4 separate regions of the Homo sapiens genome follow, and all the other regions are linked to region 3. Evidence: promoter capture Hi-C in 16 types of primary human blood cells and fetal thymus (Javierre and others, 2016). All regions are on one chromosome and are shown on one strand. The core of a region is centred on a gene start or on the middle of the fragment in contact, and the rest is flanking DNA. Distances in the headings are between cores, read along the strand shown. Region 1 holds the start of ZNF764 (zinc finger protein 764). Region 2 has its middle 2.7 kb from the start of MIR4519. Region 3 holds the start of SRCAP (Snf2 related CREBBP activator protein). Region 4 overlaps FBXL19 (F-box and leucine rich repeat protein 19).

What was found. Contacts are between HindIII fragments. The CHiCAGO score rates a contact against its expected background, and 5 or more counts as called.
Region 1: the fragment with the promoter of ZNF764 here is called in contact with the fragment with the promoter of SRCAP in region 3 in 4 of 17 cell types (fetal thymus, total B cells, monocytes and 1 more); the score reaches 6.1 in fetal thymus.
Region 2: a contact is called between a fragment that was not itself captured here and the fragment with the promoter of SRCAP in region 3, in 2 of 17 cell types (erythroblasts and megakaryocytes). The highest score is 5.9, in erythroblasts.
Region 4: a fragment that was not itself captured here is called in contact with the fragment with the promoter of SRCAP in region 3 in 1 of 17 cell types (erythroblasts); the score reaches 5.6 in erythroblasts.

Annotation. Positions count from the first base shown.
Region 1 is chr16:30,557,071-30,559,770 of GRCh38, reverse strand. ZNF764 (zinc finger protein 764) reads left to right here and starts at 1,397. Exons shown (of 3, transcript NM_001172679.2): 1 at 1,397-1,784; 2 at 1,925-2,038. The coding sequence starts at 1,589. RefSeq lists enhancers at 1,268-1,407, 1,948-2,509. The HindIII fragment of the contact is 20,167 bases long and covers 1-2,700 here.
Region 2 is chr16:30,871,249-30,873,948 of GRCh38, reverse strand. It overlaps a transcript of BCL7C not described here. Among named protein-coding and RNA genes, the nearest start is that of MIR4519, 2.7 kb to the left of the region's middle. The HindIII fragment of the contact is 4,374 bases long and covers 1-2,700 here.
Region 3 is chr16:30,697,798-30,700,497 of GRCh38, reverse strand. SRCAP (Snf2 related CREBBP activator protein) reads right to left here and starts at 1,327. Exons shown (of 34, transcript NM_006662.3): 1 at 1,256-1,327; 2 at 517-590. LOC730183 (a long non-coding RNA gene) reads left to right here and starts at 1,438. Exons shown (of 2, transcript NR_144637.2): 1 at 1,438-1,617; 2 at 2,567-2,700. RefSeq lists silencers at 1,307-1,536, 1,677-2,086 and enhancers at 1,256-1,550, 2,207-2,396, 2,427-2,516. The HindIII fragment of the contact is 7,629 bases long and covers 1-2,700 here.
Region 4 is chr16:30,937,842-30,940,541 of GRCh38, reverse strand. All of the region lies in intron 7 of FBXL19 (F-box and leucine rich repeat protein 19), which reads right to left. Among named protein-coding and RNA genes, the nearest start is that of ORAI3, 9.9 kb to the left of the region's middle. The HindIII fragment of the contact is 1,563 bases long and covers 661-2,223 here.

The DNA.
Region 1 (2,700 bases), core at 148-2,647, 140 kb after region 3:
CCTGTCCTGTTCTAATTACCAGTGCCTGCAGCACCCAGTCACATATCCCCTGCTTGTTCAATGGATCACGACCCTCTCACGGGGACCCCCTTAGAGTTGTGAGCCCTTAAAAGGGACAGGGATTGCTCACTCGGGGAGTCGGTTTTTGAGATGTGAGTCTTGCCGATGCTCCCAGCCGAATAAAACCCTTCCTTCAACTCGGTGTCTGAGGGGTTTTGTCTGTGGCTTGTCCTGCTACAACAGGACATGTATGAAGTCACGTGGAGCACAGAATAGACCATCAGAAAGTGAGAGAGAGGTCTGGGGGAGAGTTGGTGACATTTACTAGATAAAGACCCTAGGGGAAGCAGATTGGGGCAAGAAAGGGATGAGTTGGATTTGAGTAGAGGAGCCTTGGGCCATCTGTCCAGGGGCAGGATGTGAGGGGAGGTGAGAGCCCGGCTGCAGCTACAGGGAGACTGGCAATTGGGAGGCGTCCTGAGCAGCACATGGGAGAAGCTCCTAGAAGAGAGGACCCTCTGACTTTCTCAACCTTACCCTACTCTCCCCACTGCCTCCGCCATCTAGAAACTTCCAGAATTTCAGGCCCCAACAAGCCTACGATGGAGGAGGTTCTCCTGTATCCACTCCTTTTTCTTTCTTTCTTTCTTTTTTATTTTTGAGACAGAGTTTCGCTCTGTCGCCCAGGCTGGAGTGCGGTGAGGCAATCTCGGCTCACTGCAAACTCCGCCTCGCGCGTTCAAGCGATACTCCTGCCTCAGCCTCCCCAGTAGCTGGGATTACAGGTGCACGCCACCACACCTGGCTGTTTTTTTGTGTGTTTTTAGTGGAGACGGGGTTTCACCATGTTGGTGAGGCTGGTCTCGAACTTCTGACCTCAGTTGTTCCGCTGGCCTCGGCCTCCCAAACTGCTGATTACAAGCGTGAGCCACTGCGCCACGCCCACTCCATTGGTTTTTTTACACTCAACATTGGGAAGAGACTGCTGTTGCCCTGTTTCTGAGATAACAAGGACAAAACGAGAGAGTGATGAGCTGGAGCCCGATTATAAAACGGTCCACAAACGAAAACTAATGCCTGAGTTCAGTAAGGCCGGGAGGCCAGCTCACTCCCGCGAGGCGCTCTTTTGTTCGTGCAAACCGGGGCGGAGCTCTCTGCTGCACCGCCTCGCCGGGCCGGGGCGGAGCTCTCTGCTGCACCGCCTCGCCGGGCCGGGGACTAAACATGCGCGGCTAGTTTTCAAGGCCGGCCTCTGTATTAGTCACCGCGGCCATTTTGGATGAGGGTACGGAGAGAACGCGGACTGGAGATACCGGGGGCGTTGTCTTGGGCACGACTGCGTAGGGGCAAAGGTCGAGTACCCGCGCCGCCGCCATTTTTTATGAGGGCATATTCCATTTCTGATTATACACCCGCTGCCATCGGCACCGTTAGTTTCCACGCCCTCTAGTGCGCCCTCGGGGGCCCTAGTAACCTCCCTCCTTCCCTTGGGCCCGGGCCGGGGAGGCTTTCTCGGGCGCAGGAGGTTCCGCAGGCCCAGGCCAGGCCAGGGGAGGCAGCCGATCCGTCGTCGGGGTTGACAGTTACCATGGCGCCGCCTCTGGCCCCGCTCCCTCCCCGGGACCCAAACGGGGCCGGACCCGAGTGGAGGGAGCCGGGGGCTGTGAGCTTCGCGGACGTGGCCGTGTACTTCTGCCGGGAGGAGTGGGGCTGCTTGCGGCCAGCGCAGAGGGCCCTGTACCGGGACGTGATGCGGGAGACCTACGGCCACCTGAGCGCTCTCGGTGAGAGCCCCACCTGCTCGCCTGAGCCCTGCGCCCCCACAGGCCCTGCCGCGCCTCTGGGAGCTGCGCGTGAAGTTGGGGGCCCCGGGGCCGGGCAGGTGGCCTCCCCGCAGCGTGGGGTTTGCGTTCTTCTTCCCTAGGAATCGGAGGCAACAAGCCAGCTCTCATCTCCTGGGTGGAGGAGGAGGCCGAACTGTGGGGTCCGGCTGCCCAGGATCCGGAGGTGGCGAAATGTCAGACACAAACGGACCCAGGTGGAGTATCGGGTGCTCAGTCCCATGGGGACTTCTCTGTTCCTGTCCCATCCCGGTACCCTCTGCCACCTCCAGCTACCTGCTTAGCAGTTTCCTCTCTGAACTGCCTTCTCAACTGCGACGACGAGGCTGAGCCCCTGCGTGGCTCCCAGATGCAGCCTAGAAAGGAGCTGTGATGGGGGCTCTGGCCCTGCCATACCCGCCTCTGAGTCCTCACCTCTGCGTGGTCACTACACTCTGGGGGCTTTTTTTGGTGTTTTTGTTTTAGAGACAGGGTCTCGCTTTGTTGTCTAGGCTGAGTGCAGTGGCGGCATCATAGCTCACTGTAGCCTGGAACTCCCGGGCTTAAGCAGTCCTTCCACCTGGGCCTCCAGAGTAGCTAAGACTGTACAGGTGCTCGCCACGAAGCCTGGGTAATTTTTTTTTTTAGACAGAGTTTTACTCCGTTGCCCAGGCTGGAGTGCAGTGGTGCCATCTCAGTTCACTGCAACCTCCCACTCCCAGGTTCAAGTAATTCTCCTGTATCAACCTCCCAAGTAGCTGGGATTACAGGCGCCCGCCACCAAGCCTGCTTAATTTTTTTTTTTTTTTTTGAGACAGAGTCTTCCTCTGTCGCGCAGGCTGGAGTGCAGTGGCGCCATCTCGGCTCAGTGCAAGCTCCG
Region 2 (2,700 bases), core at 167-2,666, 170 kb before region 3:
ATATCTATATATATATGTATATAGAGAGAGGAGGAAAAATTATATAATTTTTCTATATGTGTGTGTGTGTATATATATCTGTACAATTTTTTTTTTTTTTGAGACAGTGTAGCTCTGTGGCCCAGGATGGAGTGCAGGGACTCGATCTCGGCTCACTGCAACCTCCGCCTCCCAGGTTCAAGCGATTCTCCTGCCTCAGCCTCCCGAGTAGCTGGGATTACAGGCTGCTGCTACCATGCCTGGGTAATTTTTGTATTTTTAGTAGAGACAGGGTTTTGCTATGTTGCCCAGGCTGGTCTGGAACTCCTGAGCTCAAAAGTGATCTGCCTGCCCCAGCCTCCCCAAATGCTGGGATTACAGGTCTGAGCCATCACACCCGGCCCATATATACGTATTTTAAAATAACACCTTTACTGAGAGAGATGACTCACACACCATACAACTCACCCATTTAAAGTGTACAGTTCAATGATTCTTAGTATCTTCACAGTTTTGCAAATATCACCACAGTCAATTTTAGAACATTTTCATTACCCCTAAAAGAAACCATACCCATTAACAGTAACTCCCAAGCCTTCCTCCCACTACAGCTCTAGACTACTGCAAATCTACTTTCTGTCTCTATAGAGTTGATTATTTTGGACATTTCATATTAGGGCTTTATGTGGCCTTTTTTGACTGAGATAACCTTTTTGTTGTTGTTTTTAACAAAATCAACTCCTTGAGCTCAGAGCCCTGGCCTATAATCATAGCCAGCTAGAACTGAACAGCATTGTTTTGGTTTTATTGTATCTATTTTTACCACTCTTGGGTACATGATAATTTCTCATTTATGGCAGTGGTTAAAGTTTCCTTTTGAATACACCTAGTTCCATCAAAACGTGAGTTGATAATTTTTAAAGAACAAGATTAAGTAAACAGAAGTAGAGGTGGTCCACAAATTTGTCAGAGGTTGGGAAGATGGGATGTGAATGAAGTTTGGCAAACACTGGATTGTCTGATTTACGGTTCTCCAGGTCATCATTTGAAAACCACCCTCACCTTATTCTTTCATTGCATTTTCCTGACAACTCCTGTAAAGAAGTGCATGATTTTACCGATGAAGAAACAGGTTCAGAGAAGTCAGGTACAATTACTTGTCCAGTGTCACACAGCTAGTGACAGAAGCTAGGCTTAACCAAGTCTGTCTGATTGCCAAAACTACCTACTTACCAAGTCTGGAAGTAGGATAGGGGGTGGGGAATGGACTAGCAGGCTTGAGAGGGGACTCTGGCCACTACCCAAAACATGCGGGCACCAGGCTGCCTGAGTTGTTTTGGGTACCTCTTCTAACAAATATTCAAATATTTCTATGAAACAATTTATGACTCTAAACAGAAATCCCATCTCATTTGCCACTGGGGCTTTCACCCTCTCTCAACGGCACACCGCAGTTCAGGAAGTGCTGCCTGCCTGGAGAATGAGGGTGTGTGTGAACGTGCGTGCTGGTGGTGAGGAGAGTCTGATCTCTAGTTCATCTTGGTTGCTACTGGCATCACTTTCCAAGCCCACAGGGGTCCCTTACACTCCATGACTTCTGCCCTATTCCACCTGTGGGCACCAGAGTCTCTAGGCTGGCTGGGATTACCTGCATATAGGGTCCCATGTTTCTGGAATGTCAGGCCGCCACCTGCTCTCAGGACTGACCACTTTCCTGGAGCACAGCCGCAGGGTATTCACCATGACTCCCTCTCTCCCCTTCCTGGCCAAGGACTTTCCCACCTCTTGCCATCATCTTCATCAGAACTCTGCCTCCTCCCTCAGACCCTATTCCTCATCTTATTCTTTCCCTGTGGGCTTTAACTGACCATTAAATTCAGAACCCATTCCAATAACACGAATATCCTTTTCCAGAGAGAGCTTAATTTTATACCTTAATTTTTGAAATTATAGCATATAGAAGATAAGCAAAACAACCAGGTCCTGCCATGCTCTTGTTCAACACCGATTTAACTCAGTCCACCTCTCTCACAGCTGTGCAATTCAACTTGACCCAAACTTGAGGCTAAGCACCTCCAGACAGGATGATTAGGGTCCATCTGGTCTCACTCAACTTAGGTGAGAATCTCAACCCTAAATCCAAGCAATTATCTGAGTAATTCTGGACCCTATAAAACAAAATAGTGGCCGGGTGCGATGGCTCACACCTGTAATCCCAGCACTTTGGGAGGCCAAGGTAGGCAGATCACCTGAGGTCAGGAGTTCAAGACCAGCCTGGCCAACATGGTGAAACCCTGTCTCTACTAAAAATGCAAAAATAAGCCAGGTGTGGTGGTGCCTGCCTGTAGTCCCAGCTACTCAGGAGGCTGAGGCAGGAGAATCACTGGAACCCGGGAGGTGAAGGTTGCAGTGAGCCAAGATCGTACCACTGCACTCCAGCCTGGGCGACAGAGTGAGACTCAGTCTCAAAAAAAAAAGCTAACATTGAGCTAGGTGAATATTCTCAGAGCACTACATGCATAATCTTACAAAATCATTTCAATAACTTAGTGAGGTAAGTACTCTTATTATTTCCACTTGACAGATGAGAAAAGCAAGGCACAGAGAAGTGAAGTCACTTGTCCCATAGTATATAATAGAGGCAGATCTGAATCCGTATCATCTGACTTCAGAGTGTGTACCCTCAAACACAGAGTTCAGATGAGGCTAACTCCAGCCATC
Region 3 (2,700 bases), core at 78-2,577:
ATTTCTTGAGCACTTACTATGTATAAGATACTTTTAGTACCTGTTTGATGTGTTCTATAATCCTCACACCTACCTTAAAAACCAAGTGCTTTTCACAGCATAACAAATATTGACTTCCTCCTACACACAACGGATATAGCCATGCAGAAAGGATTCCCGACCTAAATGTAGCTTACATTCTAATATAATCTGTTTTGTAAGTTACGAAGTTAAGACCTTATGATTTGCGGAAGGTTACACAGTAAAAAAGTGATAGGAGGGCTTCAATCCACAGTCTGATGCCAAAACCAAGGAAAACCTGCTACTCTTCCTGGTAGAGCCAGGTTGACCACGTTTTCCTCAACCCACAGCCTCAGTTCTGTTGTTGTACTATAATCAAACCCTCTACAGAAAAATCACATGCAAACATTCCCATGCTTCTCTAGAGTGAAAATCCCCAATACGGACCTATAATTGCTTTATCTCAAACATTTCTCCCATTAGCATCAGCACACAAAATGGTAGCAGATCCCTCACCTGTGTGAGCTGAGACCACACCCCCTGTGAAAGTCTGCACTTCCACGGTGCCGCCGTACTGAAGGGAATCACACCTGAAACATCCATCAAAGCGTATTATTTACTCCAGTTTTTTGAGACGTTTAAATATACCCAAATCAGTTAAAAGACTAGAAACAGAAAAACTACAGTAGTAGGAAAATCTCACATTTCAGGGAAATGCAAATCATGTTTTGTGAATTCCGGAGGGACATACGATCCTGCCTGGGGGCAGGAGCAGGAAAGGAGTGAAGAAAGAAAGTTCAAAAATTTTAAGTGTAAAGGCTCCAACCACAGAATGGAAGACAAAAAAAAAATACAGCAAAAAAAAGCTGTCACATCCAGAACCTCAGAAAGGTGCTACCTGCCTGCGGGCCTTTCCAGTGAGGGCTGAACGCAGAAGTGAGAGTGGAACTCCCGGGAAGAGTCAACAAACAGGCTGGTCACAGGAAAATCCGCCCAGGATTCAGGGCAGGGCGCTGTATATCCCATACCTGCGCCTTGAGACACTTCCCCAAATACAAGAACCACAGCAAAAGGAGACTCAGGAGCAGTCAAAAGCGAGAGGCCGCACTGCCAAGAACCACGCGCCGGAAACAGGCAGTGTGAACCCGCAGGAGGCCCGGAAATGCTTCCCCAGTGTTTAAGGAAATTCCTAAACCACAGTGCCGGCTTTGATTCACTCCCTACTCCGCCACACGTTCCCAAGACCCGAGCTCACCAGAAGCCAACAAGCCTTAACTCTTGACTTCAGGTTTCGTGACCATCTCCCTAGCCCTCCCGACGGACTGACCTCGCGTGACCCCTGACCTCTGCCCAAGTTGCCACTAGCCCTGAGATAGCCCCGCCCCCTCCAGACTCCCACCCCACCCAACGTGCGCGCCGGGCGGGGGAGGGGCCCGCGCGTGCGCGGCTGGAGGCGGAGCGAGCCGGCTGCGCGCACGGCCCAGGGGCTCCCGCCAGAACCCGAGCCCACGCACACAAGGGTCGCGGGGCTGGGAAGCTCGTCATCCAAGCCCGTCAGGGAGCCCCCCCATCACCCGACCGCGAAAGGCTGAGAGAAGGGAGGGTTCGTGCCACCAGGTCCTGGTCCCCCGGCTAGATGTGGTGGGCGCGCGCCCCGACTACTCGTCCCACGCCCCCCTTCCTCTTCCCGCGCGCCCCTGAGGGGTGACTGGGTTGGTGGGCGGGCAGGAGCGCACCTGGGTCCGTCCTCTCAGGGCTCGCTCGCTCGCTCGCTCGCTCAGGCACGCGTGCGCAGAAGGGCGGGAAGGGAGAGGAGACACGCCGGGGCCCAGCGCCGGCCGGCCTGACCCCCTCAGTCTGTCTCTATGGGCGCGCGCCGACAGCCTCGCGCACCGGCCCCGGGGCCCCGGCTGAGGGTGCGCGCGCAGCACCCCGGGAAGGTGGGGGGGAGGCGGTGGCGGAAAGATGCGCGCGCAGTCAGCCGTCATGGGAGGGGGAACTGTGGGGCGTTCGCCATCTTGTCTCCCTCTCCTTACCTGCGTCCTCGGGGGCGTGCGCACCACCCCCCCTCCCGCCTAGGAGGGGGGAGGGCCCCCTCTTGGCCACCGCCTTCGCGGCCTTTAAACTCCCCTGGAGACTGCGGCTACTGCCACCGCCTTGCCTCCACTGCCTCTTCGCGCAGCACACAGATGCGGACGGTGGGTGGGAAAAAGGGCAGACGCTACTCCCAGCGAACCGCCGCTGCCGCTCCCGAGGCCTCACCAAAATGGCCGCCGCCGTCTCGGCCGCCACCACCACCACTACCACCACCACTCGCTCGGAATCGCTATCGCCGGCGCGGCCCGTCTTCTCGCGAGAGACAGTAACTGGAGGGTGGGGGAACGGGGAGGCTCGCGTGCTAGCGTAGGGTGCAGCACGGTGCGCAAGGCAGCCTGGGAGGTGTAGTCTCCCAGAGGCTGCGCGCTCGCCCTTCCTCGGAGCGCCTTTACCGTTTGCCCCTAGATCTACCTGGGGCTGCATTGCGGCTGCCAGCTCGGACCACCGCCACCTCCCTTTTTATTTACAGATCACCCAGTAAGCTGCAGCAAGTTAGCAGTGGAACCTGGGCCTCCCGATTCCCATGGCAGCCCACTTCTGTAGCGCTGCTTCGTTTTACGCGAGGATGGTTTCCTGATAGCTTTCAAACACCTTTGCCATCTC
Region 4 (2,700 bases), core at 193-2,692, 240 kb before region 3:
TCAGTTTGAGAACTCTCTTCTCTGAGTTCAGTAGTTCTCAAAGGCATGTCCAGAAATGCCTCTGAGACTCAATAGACTGTGTCAGAAGCAGCAGGCCCAGGAAGCTTTTTTTTTTTTTTCTTGAGACAGTGTCTTGCTTAGTCACCCAGGCTGGGGTGCAGTACTGCGATCACAGCTCACTGCAACCTTAAACTCCTGGGCTCAAGCCATCCTCCTACCTCAGCCTCCTGAGTAGCTGGGACTACAGGCACATGCCACCACACCTGACTTTTTTTTTTTTTTTGAGACAGAGTTTCGCTCTTGTTGCCCAGGCTGGAGTGCAATGGTGTGATCTTGGCTCACTGAAACCACCATCTCCCAAGTTCAAGCGATTCTCCCGCCTCAGCCTCCAGAGTAGCTGGGATTACAGGCATGCGCCACCACGCCCGGCTAATTTTTTGTATTTTTAGTAGAGATAGGGTTTCTCCATGTTGGCCAGGCTGGTCTCGAAATCCTGACCTCAGGTGATCTGCCCACTTTGGCCTCCCATAGTGCTGGGATTACAGGCGTGAGCCACTGTGCCTGGCCTATTTTTTTATTTTTAGTAGAGACAAGGTTGTCCAGGCTGGTTTTGAACTCCTGAGCTCAAGCGATCCTTCCCTTGGCCTCCCAAGGGAAGCTTTCTCTTGCCTCCCTCCCTGCCCTCATGACTCTGAAAGGCTTTTCCTTGTAGAAGCCCTGGGCTGGGGCAGTGATTCCCAAGCTCCAGTATTTGCTGTTCACTTATCTGCGTAACATGATTTATCTTTGAATCATCTCCTCTTTGCACTTAAAACCAGTATTGTTGCCGGGCGCGGTGGCTCATGCGTGTAATCCCAGCACTTTGGGAGGCCGAGGTGGGTGGATCACTAGGTCAGGAGATCAAGACCATCCAGGCTAACACAGTGAAACCCCGTCTCTACTAAAAAAAAAATACAAAAAATTAGCTGGGCGTGGTGGAGGGCGCCTGTAGTCCCAGATACTCGGGAGGCTGAGGCAGGAGAATGGCGTGAATCTGGGAGGTGGAGCTTGCAGTGAGCCGAGATCGTGCCACTGCACTCCAGCCTGGGCGACAGAGCGAGACTCCGTCTCAAAAAAAAAACAAAAAAAAAAACCCCAGTATTGTTTCACATAAATATGTTAATCTTAAAAATAAACACAAAAGTCCAAGTGTGGTGTAATCCCAGCACTTTGGGAGGCCAAGGTGGACAGATCACGAGGTCAGGAGATTGAGACCATCCTGGCTAACACGGTGAAACCCCATCTCTACTAAAAATACAAAAAATTAGCCGGGCGTGGTGGCGGGCACCTGTAGTCCCAGCTACTTGGGAGGCTAAGGCAGGAGAATGGCATGAACCTGGGAGGCGGAGCTTGCAGTAAGCCGAGATTGCGCCACTGCACTCCAGCCTGGGTGACAGAGCGAGACTCTGTCTCAAAAATAAATAAATAAATAAATAAAACACAAAAAAGACCAGAGTTATTAAATCCTAGCCAGGTGTTGCTGTGGCTTTAGGCTACTACCTGAAGACTACTTTTGTTAAACAGGGAGATAAGTATCAGAGAAGTGTTAGAAAAAGCACCCAATAGTGGCCAGGCGCAGTGGCTCACGCCTGTAATCCCAGCACTTTGGGAGGCCGAGGCAGGCGGATCACGAGATCAGGAGATGGAGACCATCCTGGCTAATACGGTGAAACCTCGTATCTGCTAAAAATACAAAAGATTAGCCGGGCGTGGTGGCAGGCGCCTGTAGTCCCAGCTACTCAGGAGGCTGAGGCAGGAGAATGGCGTGAACCCAGGAGGCGGAGCTGGCAGTGAGCCGAGACTGCACCACTGCACTCCAGCCTGGGCGACAGAGCAAGACTCCATCTCAAAAAAGAAAAAAAGCACCCGATGGAGAGACTTCCTTCCAATGGAAAGACTTCCTTTCCAAAACTCACAGAGGGATTAAGCCATATTTTTGTGTCACTGAAAAATGCCAGACCTACTCCAGAGGCCCAGTGTGTCATTTCATTATTTTTTTCAGACAAAGTCTCACTGTCGCCCAGGCTAGAGCTCAGTGATGCAATCATAGCTCACTGCAGCCTCAAACTCCTGGGCTCAAGTGATCCCCTTGCCTCAGCCTCCCATGTGGCTGGGACCACAGGTATGCTTAGCTAATTTTTTCTTTTTTAATAGAGATGGGGGTCTCACTATGTTGCCCAAGCTTGTCTTGAACCCCTGGGCTCAAGCAATTCTCCTGCCTCAGCCTCCCAAAGTGCTGGGATTACAGGCGTGAGCCACTGGGCCCAGCCCTGGTGTGACGTTTTAGAGAAGGCTGAGGGCACAGACACCAAGGCTTCAGTCCGAACACCTTCACCCCTCTGCCACTCGCTCTCCTGTTCCCTCCTACCCTCATCCTGCTTTTCTGGCATTCTAGCCTCTCCCTCTCCTGATTCCTTCCTCTCAACTAATAAACATCTGCAAATCTCTCCAATTCAAAACATGAAAAGGAAAAAAACCAACTCATGCCCGACCCAGCTTCTACCCCTAGGTCCTGCCCCTTTGCTCTTTCTGTGAGCAAGAAAATCGGTGACATCTGCTCTATCCAAAACCTCTCTCTGCCCACTGTGACCCTGCCACGACTGCCTCCCAGCTTAACTGTCACCACTTCCTTGAAGCCACTTCCCTTCCACGGTCCACAGC